Regions from separate parts of the Homo sapiens genome. Here region 2 is linked to region 1. The links are contacts of gene promoters, found by promoter capture Hi-C in blood cells and fetal thymus (Javierre and others, 2016). All regions are on one chromosome and are shown on one strand. Each heading gives the region's core, a stretch centred on a gene start or on the middle of the fragment in contact. The rest is flanking DNA. Distances are from core to core; before and after follow the strand shown.

Region 1 (3,335 bases), core at 523-3,022:
AAAGTGCCTTGACCTGAAGGTCATCTTAAATGGCCTTCTCCCCGCTTATACTCCAAATACCATTACTGAAACGTAGATCTATTTAAGCTTTCATGTGCTAGTTACTGGGTTAGACAATAGTGGGGAGCAAAACAGAAATAGTAGCCCAGCCCCCAGGGACATCCAGACTCGTGGGGGCAAAGGCATTTGTGAACAGGTCTCATGAGTGTTGTGGAAACACTTCAAAGCAGTTTTTATATTGTACAGTAAAGACATCGGACCCCATGGCTGCTCAAACAAGTGAATCTACAGAGGTGATTAAGTTCTAATTTAGGTTTGTTTTTTTTTTTAAGACACAGCCTTACTCTGTCACCCAGGCTGGAGTGCAGTGGCACGATCTCAGCTCACTGCAATCTCTGCCCCCCTGGGTCCAAGCAATTCTCATGCCTCAGCCTCCCAAGTAGCTGGGACTACAGGCGTGTACCACCACACCTGGCTAATTTTTGTATTTTTAGTAGAGACGGCATTTTACCATGTTGGCTAGGCTTGTTTTGAATGCCTGACCTCAGGTGATCCACCTGCCTCAGCCTCCCAAAATGTTGGGATTACAGGCGTGAGCCACCACACCTTGCTTAATTTAGGTTTTCTGTCATCCAAAATTTGTGCAGTCAATTTACTAGCCTTTCAGATTTAAAAACCACAAACATCACAATAAGTACTTAAGCACCCACAGTAGCCAGACTACTAAGGCCATGGTTATTGTATTTTTGGAGTACATGCCAGAAGAAAAGGTCATAACCCATAGATAGGTATCTAGTGTGTAGGTGTCAGCAGACACACCACACACAGCCAGGAAGGCTGAAGAGATTAGAATCACAACGCTGGGAAAGGCCTTTGAGATTCTTAGCTTGGGGTCCACGGTTGTACTTCAGGGACCCCAGAAACTCCCTGAGGTTATAAGCAAAATTGTATCGCTGCCTTTTTTCTTCAGAAAGGCTCATGGCTTTTGTCAAATTCTCAAAGGAGACTGTGACCTAAATAAAATATTTTTTAAAAATGGTTACGAGTCCTTGATCTAATTCCAGTATCTAGAGAAAATGGGAGCTATGTTTGGCTCACACAGTAAATTTATGGCAGAGACGGGTATTAAAGCCCCACTCGTGACTACATCTGTGCTTTTTGCCATCCTGGGCGCTAGAGGGAATTGCGCTGCAATTCATTAAATTGCCTCTCAGTCTCAACAGATGACAAACCCCTTGCCCTTGCCTCTGATTTAAGGTAAGATAATTTGGGCTGCGAGCAGGGTGCATCTTGGAGCGGGGAGACCTTGACATCAAACAGGAAGAGTCTTACCGGGACAAGGAGACAACAGCCCAGAGAGGCTGTCACCCAGGGTAGGTGTGCAGTCACAGTGAGGTCCCAAGGACTAAGGGCTATGACCCTAAGAGTCTCGGCTTCTGTGTAACTCACCCAAGTCACTTCCCTGGTCTACGACCCAGTTTCCCAAATGTGTAAAGGGTCCTTTAGACCTCGCCCTAAAAGGTCAGGGGCGTGGCTTAAAGAGGACCGCGCTTCCCGGGCCCCGACCCCAGACCCTACATCGTGTGTGACGCCCGCCGCCGCCGAGCAAGCCGCAGTGAGGTCATCGCCCTCCGCCTCGGGGGCGGGACCCTGGCGTCTCAGGGCGGGGCTTGTGGTCGAGCTTCGCGGTGCCACCGCCCCGCCCACGCCTCCTCGCCGGCCTCCGAGTGCGTCACGTGACGGGTCGGTGGCGCTGGCGGTTGCTGTCAGCTGATTCCCGGGGTTGGTGGCAGCGGCGGTAGCAGCAATGGACTTTCTCCTGGGGAACCCGTTCAGCTCTCCAGTGGGACAGCGCATCGGTGAGTCCCTGGAGCCCCCCACAGCTCCGCCCCGGTGCTCCGCACCCAGCTTCGGTCCCCTGGGAAGCCTCCGGGTGCCTAGTCACGGAGGCAGGGAGGGCAAGGAGGCTGGCGTGTAGCTCTCCGACCTGGCTCCGCCCAGCTTTCCTCCCACTCTTGATTGACAAGAACTTGGGCCATTAGGAAGCCTTGGCTTGTGATAGATGTATATGACAGCCAGTAGGTAAGGAGAGAGGGTGGGTCCGGATGCCCACGGCGCAGCCAATGTGCGTCTGCTGGGGTCCCCAATCGAGGGAGAAAGTTTTCGTGGTTAAAGGGACTGCGTGGTTGGCAGTGGCTGGGCCACTCTGCTGGGTCCCGCCGCCTGGGCTCTGGCCAGCTCCTTCCTGGCTCACCGGGCCCTCCGGACACAGACACCTGAGAAGGGCTAGAAGTCCCTTCTCCCAGGACCGCGAAGCCCCGGGCTTGGCGTCTTGGGGCCAACTGGCCAGAGGGGCCCAGCGCCGGACAGCCCGCGGCCAGGCCTCACAGACCCGGGTCTCAGGACGTGTCCGCCTGGGCTCTTTTCTCGACCCAACCTCAAATGGACCCGCACAGACTCTCAGAACCTGAGCAGACAGTGGTCGGACAAACCCTCCTGGTCAGCCCATCTCGGTGCTCCGTAGGTGGGGCAGCCGGGAACTCGGGCCAAGCCAAGCCCAGGGCACCTGGCGCCTGTCTGCTGGTCCGTGGTTCTCTGCACCCTGGTGACAGGATACTCACAGTTCTGTGACGCAGCCTCCCTGGGCCGAGGTTTCCTCACCTGTAGTTGGCGGGCAATAATGGTCCCCACCTCCGTGGGCTTGTTGTGAAGATTAAATTCCTTAATAAATGTGAAATACTTAGAACAATGCCTGGTACATGGCCAGTGCCATATAAAAAAAAACAGTTGTAATATTTATTATCACTGGGCTGGGCACGGTGGCTCCCGCCTGTAATCCCAGCACTTTGGGAGGCCAAGGCGGGCAGATCGCTTGAGCCCAGGAGTTCGAGACCAGCCTGGGCAACATGGCGAGACCCCGTCTCTACAAAAAAAAAAAAAAAAAAAAATACAGAAATTAGCCGGGCGTGGTGGTGCGTGCCTGTGCACCCAGCCACTCGGTAGGCAGAGCTGGGAGGATTTATTGGATCTGGGAGGTCAGGGCTGCAGTGAGCCCTGATGGCGCCACTGTACTCCAGCCTGGACGACGCAGGGAGAGCCCATCTCTTGAAACACATACACATACACACACACACACGCACACATATATATAAAAATATACACATACAAACATACATATACATACACATACATATATATTATATGTATTTACACACACACGTTGTTCCTGAGATCACCAAGTGAAGGTTAGGAATCCCTGGAAATCGCTTGGCAGTAGATCTCATAGGTGCTCATTCTTGGGCACCAACACCATGAGAACCGACATGCCTTCACCC
Region 2 (3,335 bases), core at 283-2,782, 8.6 Mb before region 1:
ATGTCCAAAACCCTCACTTCCACCCTGTGTGTGTGCTGGGGGCATGAGAGACTGGGGGGATCTCTGAACATGAGTCCCCTCAGATGCAGAATTAGGCTGGGGGGATGTGGGAAGTTGGGGATGGAGGCTGTGGCCTCATCCTCACTCGCTGTCTTCTCCCCCAGGTGGCTCCATCTGGGCCGCATCTCCAGGACTCCTGGCCTGGACTTCTCTTTGGACCTCGGGTGACCTTGGATTCTGGCCACAGTGACTTAGCGGTCAGACTCCGGTGGTTTTCTAGCCCGCTGGGTGACTCCCTGAAGATCTCATCCTCTTCACACCTGTTGGGATGGAGCCTCCCATGGATAGGAACTCTTCCTGGTTGATGCTCAGCAGATGACTGATCTGGCTCTGGAGGACAGCTCCAGGGGTATGAGGGAGGCCTGGCAGCCCACTACTCCCTCCTCACCTGCTCGGGCCCTGCCTGCTGGGCCCTATTGTCTGGGTCTGGGGGCCCTTTCCTGCCCCATGTGAACTTGATTCCTCCTCGCGTTTCTGCCGGTGACCAGACAGAGCCTGGCCTGGGCCAAGTCCCCACTGACCACACTTTCCCCAAGGCTGGGTCTCAAAGGACCCTACAGGATGGGGACAGGAACAAGGATGGGAGTCGGGGAGGGGCTGTCAGGCAGAGGGCAGATGCAGCTCCTCGGGTGCCGCTGGCTGGAGTCCTTTGTCTCCATTTGCTCAGTGCGTAATTGTCATTTTGTGGGGGACTTCCTTGGTGGGGCTTTTCCATGCTTTTCCTCTCCCTGATGGTTACAAAGAGGAGACAGTCAGGATCTGGGAGGAGCTGGAGCCTTCCCCCTGTGCTGTTGAACTCTGGGAGGGGCAGCCAGAGGGGCTGAGAGTGCACCATCCTGAAAAGAGAGGGTCTTTAAGAGATAAGATTTAGGCTAGGGAAATTCACTAGAAAGAGACAGGTGGCCCTGGGTTTTTTTTCCTGCCATCCAAAGGGAACCAGTCTTACCCAAAGGCTTAAGGGGTCACCTTAGCCCAGTCTCAGGACACTCTTCTCCAATCAGATCGCTGCTTCTAGTTGCACTGCTCCTGGATTCTGTTCTTGGGGAACAGAAGGTGGCAGGACAGGCCCCACAATCTGCAATTCCAGCTCCCTCCAGAGGAGACAGTCCCAGCGTTTGCAAGAGAGCAGCTTGTGGCCTCCCTTAGGCAAGTTTAAAAGCCAGATGTCCTTTTTCCCAGAATGCGGAGTGGTGTGTACTATTCATCAGCTTGGGCTGCCACAGCACCATGCCAGACTGGATGGCTTAAACATCAGGAATTTATTTTCTGCCAGTTCTGGAGGCTGGAAAGTCCAGATCAAGGTGTTAAGACTTGGTTTCTGGTGAGGCCTCTCTCCTTGGCTTGCAGGTGGCACCTTCTCACTATGTCCTCACATGGCCTTTTCTCTGTGGAGAGGGACAGAGAGCATGAGCAGGCTCTGGTGTCTCCTCCTCTTCTTATAAAGACACTAATATCACCATATTAGGGCTTAAACCTATGACCTCATTTAACCTTAACCCCTTAAAGGTCCCATCTCCAAAAACAGTCACATAGCAGGCTACTGCTTCAACATATGCATTTGGGGGAGGGGACACCATTCAGTTCTTAACAGGGTGGTCACCGCAAACATGGAAAGTCAGAGCCTTCTCCCCTTCAGAATTCCCGCCCCCACCCAGGGATGGGGAGGAGGAGCAGAGAGGTATGGGAAGCAGACACGGAGAGTGGCAGGTACCATGCTGGGGTGGCTCAGGAGTGCTTCGGAGGACATATGGAACTGGCAGGGCTCAGTGCAGGGAGGCGGAGGCCCTGGGAGAGCCGTGTCCTGAGAAGGGCCTGGGCTACAACCCTGGGCAAGTTACTTCACCTCTGAGCCTCCGATGCTCTGTGAAATGGAAGGAATGTGCTTGCCTGTCAGGTGCAGGGAGAATTCAGTGAGATTGTGTGCCTAGCACAGTGCCTGACTCCCAGTAGGTGCTCAGCAAATGCTCCCATCCATCTGGGAGTATAGACTTAGGGTTTATCTATTTTTTTTTTTTTTTGGCTCTCTGGACTTTAAAACTCAGCATCTTCTGAACCAGAGGCATTTCTGATTAGCCCTTCCCTACCTATTTTCCTAGTATCACTCTTTAATCAGCTTGGGGAGGTGGCAGCATTTCATGGCCTCCGTAGTAACTCACAATGCTTCCTGGGGTATTTAAATTCTACTCTCTCATCAGCACTGAGCACCTACTTTGGGCCCTTTCCCGTGCTAGCCATTTGGGGGAAATATAGGTGAAGAGTGGCTGGGGTTTGAACCTTTAGGATTTCACAGCCATGCTGGATGGGATAAAACCAGCTCACATGGAGAATCAGAGAATGGGACAGTGCCACAAAACAGTCTACTGAGGCACAAGTTCTGAGTGCCTGGGAAGTGGTAGAGAGACCCCAGAGAGGGCTGCTGCAGTCTGGAACAGCTTCCTAGCAAGCTGTACCAAACAGGGCCTTGAAGGATGAGAAAGATCTGGCTGAGATGATACCCGACCCTCTAGGGAAATTCTTAAAGTAACTTCTAGGAAATGTCATTGCTCCTTAAAAAAAAAAAAAAAAAAAAAAAAGCAGGTTCTAATTCAAATTCCGCTGCACTACTGAAGTAGTGCAGGACTTATCAGAACCTTTAAAATGCTAATGGCAATTTCAAATACTCAGGGACAGGGCATAGGATGAAGTGTTCCTTGACTTTTATGGCCGTAGAATCTTTTTCTCATGGAACATCGTTTAGAACTGTGGGAGATGCTAGGCTGGGGTTTCTATGGGAAAAGTACAGCAGTGATAGAAGATGGCATAATTAGGGTACACTTAGGTGCTTTGTAGCATTGGCTGAAAAGGAAGCAGACCGGGTGGGCGTGGGGGAGTCTCAACTTGGTTCCAGGAGCCAGGCCAGCTTGATGCGTTTTTTTTTTTTCTAATGGTGGGAGGGCAGGCCAATAGTTGGAGAAACTAGAGGCCTGACAGTCGGTGATGGAAGAGATGTCTACTAAGCACGGTTGTCAGATCTTTTGCGGAGAGATGCGGGTGTGCGTGTGTCTGTCAGAGTGTAACAGGATCCAGCCCTCTGGGAAGGGGCTGACCAGAACCAGGCAGGGGGTTTCTGTCTAGGACAAGTAGGGTCCATTTTCAGGGGAGCTGAAATATTTGCAGGGGGTGCTCTGAGACCCACAGCCAATAAATAGGGAAGCAACATGCTTTTGGGCAGGGTCCATGTGGTTAGGGTTGATTTTGATGGGGCTGGGGGGCTTAGAGTTAGACCCCCTGCCCTG

Evidence for each region. Contacts are between HindIII fragments. The CHiCAGO score rates a contact against its expected background, and 5 or more counts as called.
Region 2: a contact is called between a fragment that was not itself captured here and the fragment with the promoter of TOM1 in region 1, in 1 of 17 cell types (neutrophils). The highest score is 6.3, in neutrophils.

What each region holds. Positions count from the first base shown.
Region 1 is chr22:35,298,122-35,301,456 of GRCh38, forward strand. TOM1 (target of myb1 membrane trafficking protein) reads left to right here and starts at 1,773. Exons shown (of 15, transcript NM_005488.3): 1 at 1,773-1,859. The coding sequence starts at 1,808. RefSeq lists enhancers at 1,348-1,870, 1,797-1,946, 1,871-2,393, 2,347-2,506, 2,917-3,335. The HindIII fragment of the contact is 3,434 bases long and covers 86-3,335 here.
Region 2 is chr22:26,667,994-26,671,328 of GRCh38, forward strand. MIAT (myocardial infarction associated transcript) reads left to right here. Exons shown (of 5, transcript NR_033320.3): 5 at 165-3,335. Among named protein-coding and RNA genes, the nearest start is that of MIATNB, 3.2 kb to the right of the region's middle. RefSeq lists enhancers at 1-583, 584-1,166. The HindIII fragment of the contact is 9,187 bases long and covers 1-3,335 here.